2 separate regions of the Homo sapiens genome follow, and region 2 is linked to region 1. The links are contacts of gene promoters, found by promoter capture Hi-C in blood cells and fetal thymus (Javierre and others, 2016). All regions are on one chromosome and are shown on one strand. Each heading gives the region's core, a stretch centred on a gene start or on the middle of the fragment in contact. The rest is flanking DNA. Distances are from core to core; before and after follow the strand shown.

What was found. The method cuts DNA at HindIII sites, captures the fragments that hold promoters and counts their contacts. A CHiCAGO score of 5 or more calls a contact.
Region 2: a contact is called between a fragment that was not itself captured here and the fragment with the promoter of AEN in region 1, in 2 of 17 cell types (total B cells and naive B cells). The highest score is 6.2, in total B cells.

What each region holds. Positions count from the first base shown.
Region 1 is chr15:88,619,811-88,623,253 of GRCh38, reverse strand. It overlaps AEN (apoptosis enhancing nuclease), which reads right to left and starts at 1,914. Exons shown (of 4, transcript NM_022767.4): 1 at 1,872-1,914. RefSeq lists enhancers at 1-383, 1,870-2,029, 1,359-2,032, 2,033-2,706 and a silencer at 1,660-1,849. The HindIII fragment of the contact is 13,176 bases long and covers 1-3,443 here.
Region 2 is chr15:89,133,679-89,137,121 of GRCh38, reverse strand. All of the region lies in intron 3 of ABHD2 (abhydrolase domain containing 2, acylglycerol lipase), which reads right to left. It also overlaps the pseudogene HMGB1P8. Among named protein-coding and RNA genes, the nearest start is that of ABHD2, 47 kb to the right of the region's middle. The HindIII fragment of the contact is 5,708 bases long and covers 1-3,443 here.

The DNA of each region.
Region 1 (3,443 bases), core at 665-3,164:
CAGGAGAAAAGGTCTCTCTTTTAAAAAGGTCTTAACTGTAACCAACTTCCTCATATTGACAGTCACATCTTAGAACTGACAAATTCAGAACCTTAATCTGCCTCAGCCCAGCAATGGGAGAAAAAAGCCTAAGAAGCCCAATGCCCACCCTGCTAATAACTAATTTGGGAAAGGGGGCTGGCGGATAGTCCCCTCCTTTCTCTGTGAGGGGCTGAGGCTAGGAGTAGGGTGGGTGGCTTTCCTGATCCTACTGGCAAGGTTTTAAAGAAGCCAGAAATTAAGTTATCTGAGAAAAGGTCTCTGTAGCCTCCTATTTCAAGAGAGGAAAGTAGTCCTTTTCCAAACACCCTGACCTTGCTTAAGAGAAGAGAGAAAGAGACCTCCCCCTCATATTGTTCTGTATTATTTTATACTCAGTACCTGTTTTAAGAAGAAACAAGGAAGCAAAACCAAAGGCAGGCAGCCCGGCGCCACGCACCAGACCCAAAACCAGACCCAAAACCAGGCCTGGGCCTGCCTGACCTTAGCCTGATAGTTAAAATTAAACCCATGACCTAGCAACCGATGTTATCCATAGATTTCAGACATTGTATAGAAGGACACTGTGAAATCTCTTGTTCTGTTCTGTTCTGTTTCACTCTGACTACCGGTGCATGCAGTCCCTGTCACATACCCCCTAGATTGCTCAATCAATCATGGCCCTTTCTTGTAAAATCTTTAGTGTTGTGAGTCCTTAAAAGGGACAGAAACTGTGCACTCAACAAGCTCGGATTTTGAGATGCTAGTCTGCCGATGCTTCCAGCTGATTAAAAGCCAATTCCTTCACTACCTCTGTGGGGTTTTGTCCGCGGCTCCTCCTGCTACATGCTGACACGTCAAAACCAACAGTCATCAAGGACACACCTCTTTGGGGACCCAAATGTAGCTCAGTGAAGCTGGAGAGAAGTTCCGCTCAGATAAAACAACCCTTTCAACAAGGACAAACACAAGCCTTTCTCTAGCCTGGACCCAGCGCTCTGGGGGTCAGACACCCGGCCTTCAGGCAGGGAGGGGGTCTGGCCTAAAGAAAGGGTCCCAGCTGCAGAGTCAATGGAGCAAAGGCCCCAAAGGAACCAAGAAGTCAGAATCCTCGGTGGCATGAGAGCCACCAACCTGCTGGCTGATCAAGAGGGCAGAGGGCAGTTCTAGACCCTCCTCTGGCACTAAGTAGCTAGATGATCTGGGGCAAGTCACGTCTCTTCACCATCAACCGAGGGCTGTGAATTAGATAAGGGCTTCCCAAATGTAGTTAATTACCATATGACATCTGATGAAAGGCTGATTTTCAGGCCCACTCCCACACCGTCCTAATTGCTATTTTGGGGAAAGGGGCCTGAGAATCTAGATTTTTAAAAAGAGCGCGGACGACCCCTACCCTCAAGCCACAATTCTGATAATCGCCCAAACCTGAAAAAACCTGGCTCGATAAGGTCCCCTGTGCTGCTAAAAAGTCCACGGAACAACGACAACAACTAAAGTCTGCTATCCTGGCACGACCTCCCCGCCGGCTGGCGTTCTCCCAGGCGTGACGCGTGGGAGGCCTGATCTCACCGGGAAGGACTCGGGCGTTGGTCACTTGCTGGCCGCGGCAGCTGGGCCGAGTCCCAACGACCAGCGCCGCCCCCTCTGGCCCTGGACCCCCGAGCAGAGCGAGGGCTGGAGACAGGCGGCGCCCGGCCTGCTTTTCTGCGGGCCGGTAGGGCAGGGTCAGCCCAGTTCAGGCGTCCCCGCCGCAGGCCGGGGCGGAAACAACGCGCGGGGACCTGCGACCCGGGACACGCGGCCTCAGCCCGCCCGACCCCGCCGCCCCGGTGCAGGGTCCTGGATCTCACCTGAAGCCCCGCGTGTCTCTTCCGGTCTGCACGTGGCGTCCGGAAAGCCGGCAGCTCCCACATGCCCGGGCAAGCCCGGCTCCGACTGCCCGCCTATTGGCTCGCTGGACGGCAGCGCCCGCCCAAGACCTCTTCTGATTGGTCGAGCCTGCCTGGCAGCGGGGAGGCGGGCGAGAGCAGAAGGGGAGGGACTCCTGAAGAGGGCGTAACTCGTGCTGCGAGCCGGCCATACTGGCGGGAAATTTTAAAGAGAAGGGAAGGGAGACTGACCTCCTGTCGTCCCTGCCCGGTCCCATCAGTGTTCCCCGGCTCCAATCCACTCCTCTACCTGGGTCGGGATGTGGGCTCCTGTAAGCCTGGTACCACCAAAGGCCGAATGACTTACTGAGTACACCCACATCTGCAGATTGGGAACATCGGCCCTTACCTCCTCGGGTGTTCTGGGATTCAAGGAAATAATATACACAGTAGGCACTAAAGAGAGACTTTGAAAGTCAGGTTTCCTCCGTCAGCGCTGCTTTTTCATTTATTCTTTTGCAACACTTGACTCCTAAGTATTAAGTTCCTACGTGGGCTTGGCAGTGGGATGCACACAATAAACACATAAGCATCCTGAGTTGTTTATCTAACAGCAGGGAAACAGCAAGGTTAACAGAAAATTCAGTGCAACATGAGGCCGGGGCGCGGTGGCTCACGACTGTAATCCCAGCACTTTGGGAGGCCGAGGCAGGTGATCACCTGAAGTCAGGAGTTTGAGACCAGCCTGACCAACATGAAACCCCATCTCTCCAAAAATACAAAAATTAGCCGGGCGTTGACGGGAGCCTGTAATCCCAGCTACTCGGGAGGCTGAGGCAGGAGAATCGCTTGAGCCCAGAAGGCGGAGGTTGCAGTGAGCCGAGATCGCGCCATTGCACTCCATCCAGCCTGGGCACCAAGAGCAAAACTCCGTCTCAAAAAAAAAGAAAGAAAGAAAGAAAGAAAATTCAGTGTAACATGAGTAATAACAAGAACAATAATAAACAGTTCACACGTATTATGTGAGCACGAATGATGTGCCAGGCAAAATACTCAGTTAATTTGTACAATGACCTTACTATTATTTCAGTTTTACAGTTAAGGAAATTGACACTTAAATTAAGGAGAAACACCTAGAATCCAAAGATCCTTACCTAAGCAGTCTGACTTCTCTTAGTTCACATTTTGCAAGCAGAAGTGATTTGGAAACGTACCTGTGATGAGAAATAAGCTAGGAGCTCTTTCTGATGGGAGTACAAATTTGAGGGAAGCAGGACAAGGGATGAGGTCACAAGAGAGATCAATCCTTTTACCCAGGCCCCTGAAGGCTTTGGGGAGGCAGAGGGATTTAAGCCATAGATAGTTTACCAGTGAATCTGCATTTGAAAAAACTTGTTCTGGCTGCAGCATAGAGAGGAATGGATGAGGACTGGAGAAAGGAGTGGGGGAGTGTTTGTGGAAATTTGGAAGATCATGATGTCCAGAGTGGTGTGGAGGATAAAGAGCTCCCCACCTAAGTAGCATTTGAAATGACAGATTCAAATGCTACTTAGG
Region 2 (3,443 bases), core at 430-2,929, 510 kb before region 1:
GGATCCGTTAGAGAACTGGTCCTGCAAACAGCCAGTCAAAGATTAGTGACCTAACTTTAGGAGAAGGCACCACTATTCCCAGACCTGGGCTGCCAAGGTGCTAAGTGCAAAGTTCCCAGACTCACTCTGTGCTAACCAAACAGGATGTACGCTGACGCTCAGAACACAGAGCACCCGTGTCTTGTCCCCATCTGCCTAGTCACCTCTCTCCTGAGGACATGCACATAGATGCCAATGGTCTGCTCTTTGTCCAACACAGTGCCTTTTGGCTACTTCCCAGGCCAAGGCTACCTCAAAATCTGTGCCAGCGTTATGGGGAGGGAAGATTAGAGCTGGAAAATCACATTATATTTGCCACTATTCCTAGTGGAGGAAAACTCAAATACCTAAATGTGAAGCCCCTGGATTACCTACACAGAATGCTCTTTTAAGAACACGCTAATCAACTAGGAGCTGCGCTGGCTGGAGAGCAATGTTATAGAGCGGAGAGAGTGAGGAGGCTGCACCTGGCTCCCGATATCACAGCCATTGCAGTACAATGAGCTCCATAGAGATAGCACTGGGGCAAGTGAGAGCCAGATGGGCACTGGGCAATTCTGTGCCTTGCTGAGGAAAAATAACTAAACATGGGCAAAGGAGACCCTAAGAAGCCAAGAGAGAAAATGCCATCATATGCATTTTTTGTGCAAACTTGTAGGGAGGCACATAAGAACAAACATCCAGATGCTTCAGTCAACTCCTCAGAGTTTTCTAAGAAGTGCTCAGAGAGGTGGAAGACCATGCCTACTAAACAGAAAGGAAAATTCGAAGATATGGCAAAGGCAGACAGGGCCCATACGAAAGAGAAACGAAAACCTGTATCTTTCCTAAAGGGGAGACAAAAAAGACGTTCAGGCTGGGTGTGGTGGCTCACGCCTGTAATCTCAGCACTTTGGGAGGCTGAGGCGGGTAGATCACCTAAGGTCAGGAGTTCGAGGCCAGCCTGGCCAAGACAGTGAAAGCCCGTCTCTACTGAAAAAAAAAAAAAAATTGCCAGGCATGGTGGCGGGCGTCTGTAATCCCAGCTACTCGGGAGGCTGAGGCAAAAGAATCGCTTGAACCTGGGAGGCAGAGGTTGCAGTGAGCTGAGATTGCGCCATTGCACTCCAGCCTGGGCAACAAAAGGGAAACTCCATCTCAAAAGAAAAAAAAAAAAGTTAAAGGATCCCAGTGCACCCAAGAGGCCTCCTTCGGCCTTCTTCCTGTTCTGTTCTGTCCTGTTCTGTTCTGTTCTGAGTATCGCCCAAATATCAAAGGAGAACATCTGGCCTGTCCACTAATGATGTTGCAAAGAAACTGGGAGAGATGTGGAATAACATTGCTGCAGATGACAGGCAGCCTTATAAAAAGAAGGCTGCGAAGCTGAAGGAAAAGTAAGAAAAGGATATTGCTGCATATCGGGCTAAAGGAAAGCCTGCTGCAGCAAAAAAAGGGAGTTGTCAAGGCTGAAAAAAGCAAGAAAAAGAAGGAAGAGGAGGAAGATGAGGAAGATGAAGAGGATAAGAATGAGGAGGAGGAAGATGAAGATGATGATGAATAAGTTGGTTCTAGTGTAGTTTTTTTTCTCGTCTATAAAGCATTTAACCTGTACATAACTCACTCCTTTTAAAGAAAAAAACTGAAATGTAAGGCTGTGTAAGATTTGTTTTTAAACTGTACAATGTCTTTTTTTTTTTGTATAGTTAACACACTACCAAATGTGTCTTTAGATATCCCTGTCCTGGTGGTATTTTCAATAGCCACCAACCTTGCCTAGTACAGTATGGGGATTGTAAACTGGCATGGAAATTAAAAGCAGGTTCTTGTTAGTGCATGGCACAAATTAGTTATATATGGGGATGGTAGTTTTTTCATCTTCAGTTGTCTCTGATGCAGCTTATATAAAATGACTGTTGTTAAGTGAATACCACTCTGTAATTGCAAAAAAAAAAAAAAAAAAGAAAAAGTTGTAGCCATTTTGTTGACATTCTGAATGCTTCTAAGCAAATACAATTTTTTATTAAAAATAAATAAAGAAAGAACACACCAATCAAGAGATGACTTTAAGGATTAAAATGCTGACATTTGACATCAGCATTTGTACTACATCTTGCCTTTCTTTGATGTGCAGAAAACAACTCATAAAATGGCAAGCAATGATGTTAGGAAAAAGTAGGTTCTACAAATATTTAATGAAAATTATGTTTCTTTTGTCAGTAATTATATAGATCATTACTAATAAGCCATACTCAAAACTTGACCCCATTCTTGCTCCCAGGGAGTTCACAATCAAGAAAAGGAGATAAGAAAACTTTATAATGCTCTTTCGGGCTCAAAGACTTGAATAAATGAACTTGCACTGGAAAACTTGGCATCACAAACATGTCAATTTTCCCTAAATTACCTATAAACTTAAGAGATACACAATAAAAATAATAAGATTTTTATATGTGGAATTAAACAAGCATTCTAAAGTTCATTTGGAAAAATGAACCAGCTATAATAGCCAAGAAAAGTATGAAAACAAGCAGTGCTGGGGTATGAGCATCGCCCCACTGCCCACAGCAAAACATAGTACAAAGCTGCAATCTGCTGATGGTATATGTTCAGGACCATCAACAGAACACAAAAGACTGGAAATATGCCTAAATACATCCAGGAAATTTAGTTGGTGAAAAAGGTGGCATTTGAATAATGGGGTAAAGATGGATTGTTTAATAGTGTTGGACAAAGTGTAGCCGTCTTGAAAAAAATTATGTTGGAGCCACACCTCACACCAGGATAAATTCTGGAAGGATGAAACATTTCAAAATAAAAATGAAATCATTCATATGCTAGAAGAAATTCTAGGCTTTTAAAAATAATCTTGCAGTGAAGAAGACCTTTCTAAGGAAACCAGAAATCCCAGAAGCCACAAAAGAAACAATTGAAAAATTTAATTATGCAAACATTAAAAAAAATTATGCGGCCGGGCGCCGTGGCTCACGCCTGTAATCCCAGCACTCTGGGAGGCTGAGGCGGGAGGATCACGAGGTCAGGAGATCGAGGCCATCCTGGCTAACATGGTGAAACCCCGTCTCTACTAAAAATACAAAAAAAATTAGCCGGTCGTGGTGGCAGGCACCCGTAGTCCCAGCTACTCAGGAGGCTGAGGCAGGAGAATGGTGTGAACCCAGGAGGCGGAGCTTGCAGTGAGCCGAGATCACGCCACTGCACTCTAGCCTGGGTGACAGAGCGAGACTCTGTCTCAAAAAAAAAAAAAAAAAAAATTATGCATGGCAAATACCACTATGGGCAAAGTCAAAAGACAAATGACAAACTGAGAACAAATATTTGCAATTCATATCACAAAGGGCTAATTTCCCTAGTACATAAAGAGCTCCCTCAAATGATTAGGAAAAAGACCAATGACCATCAGAAAAATG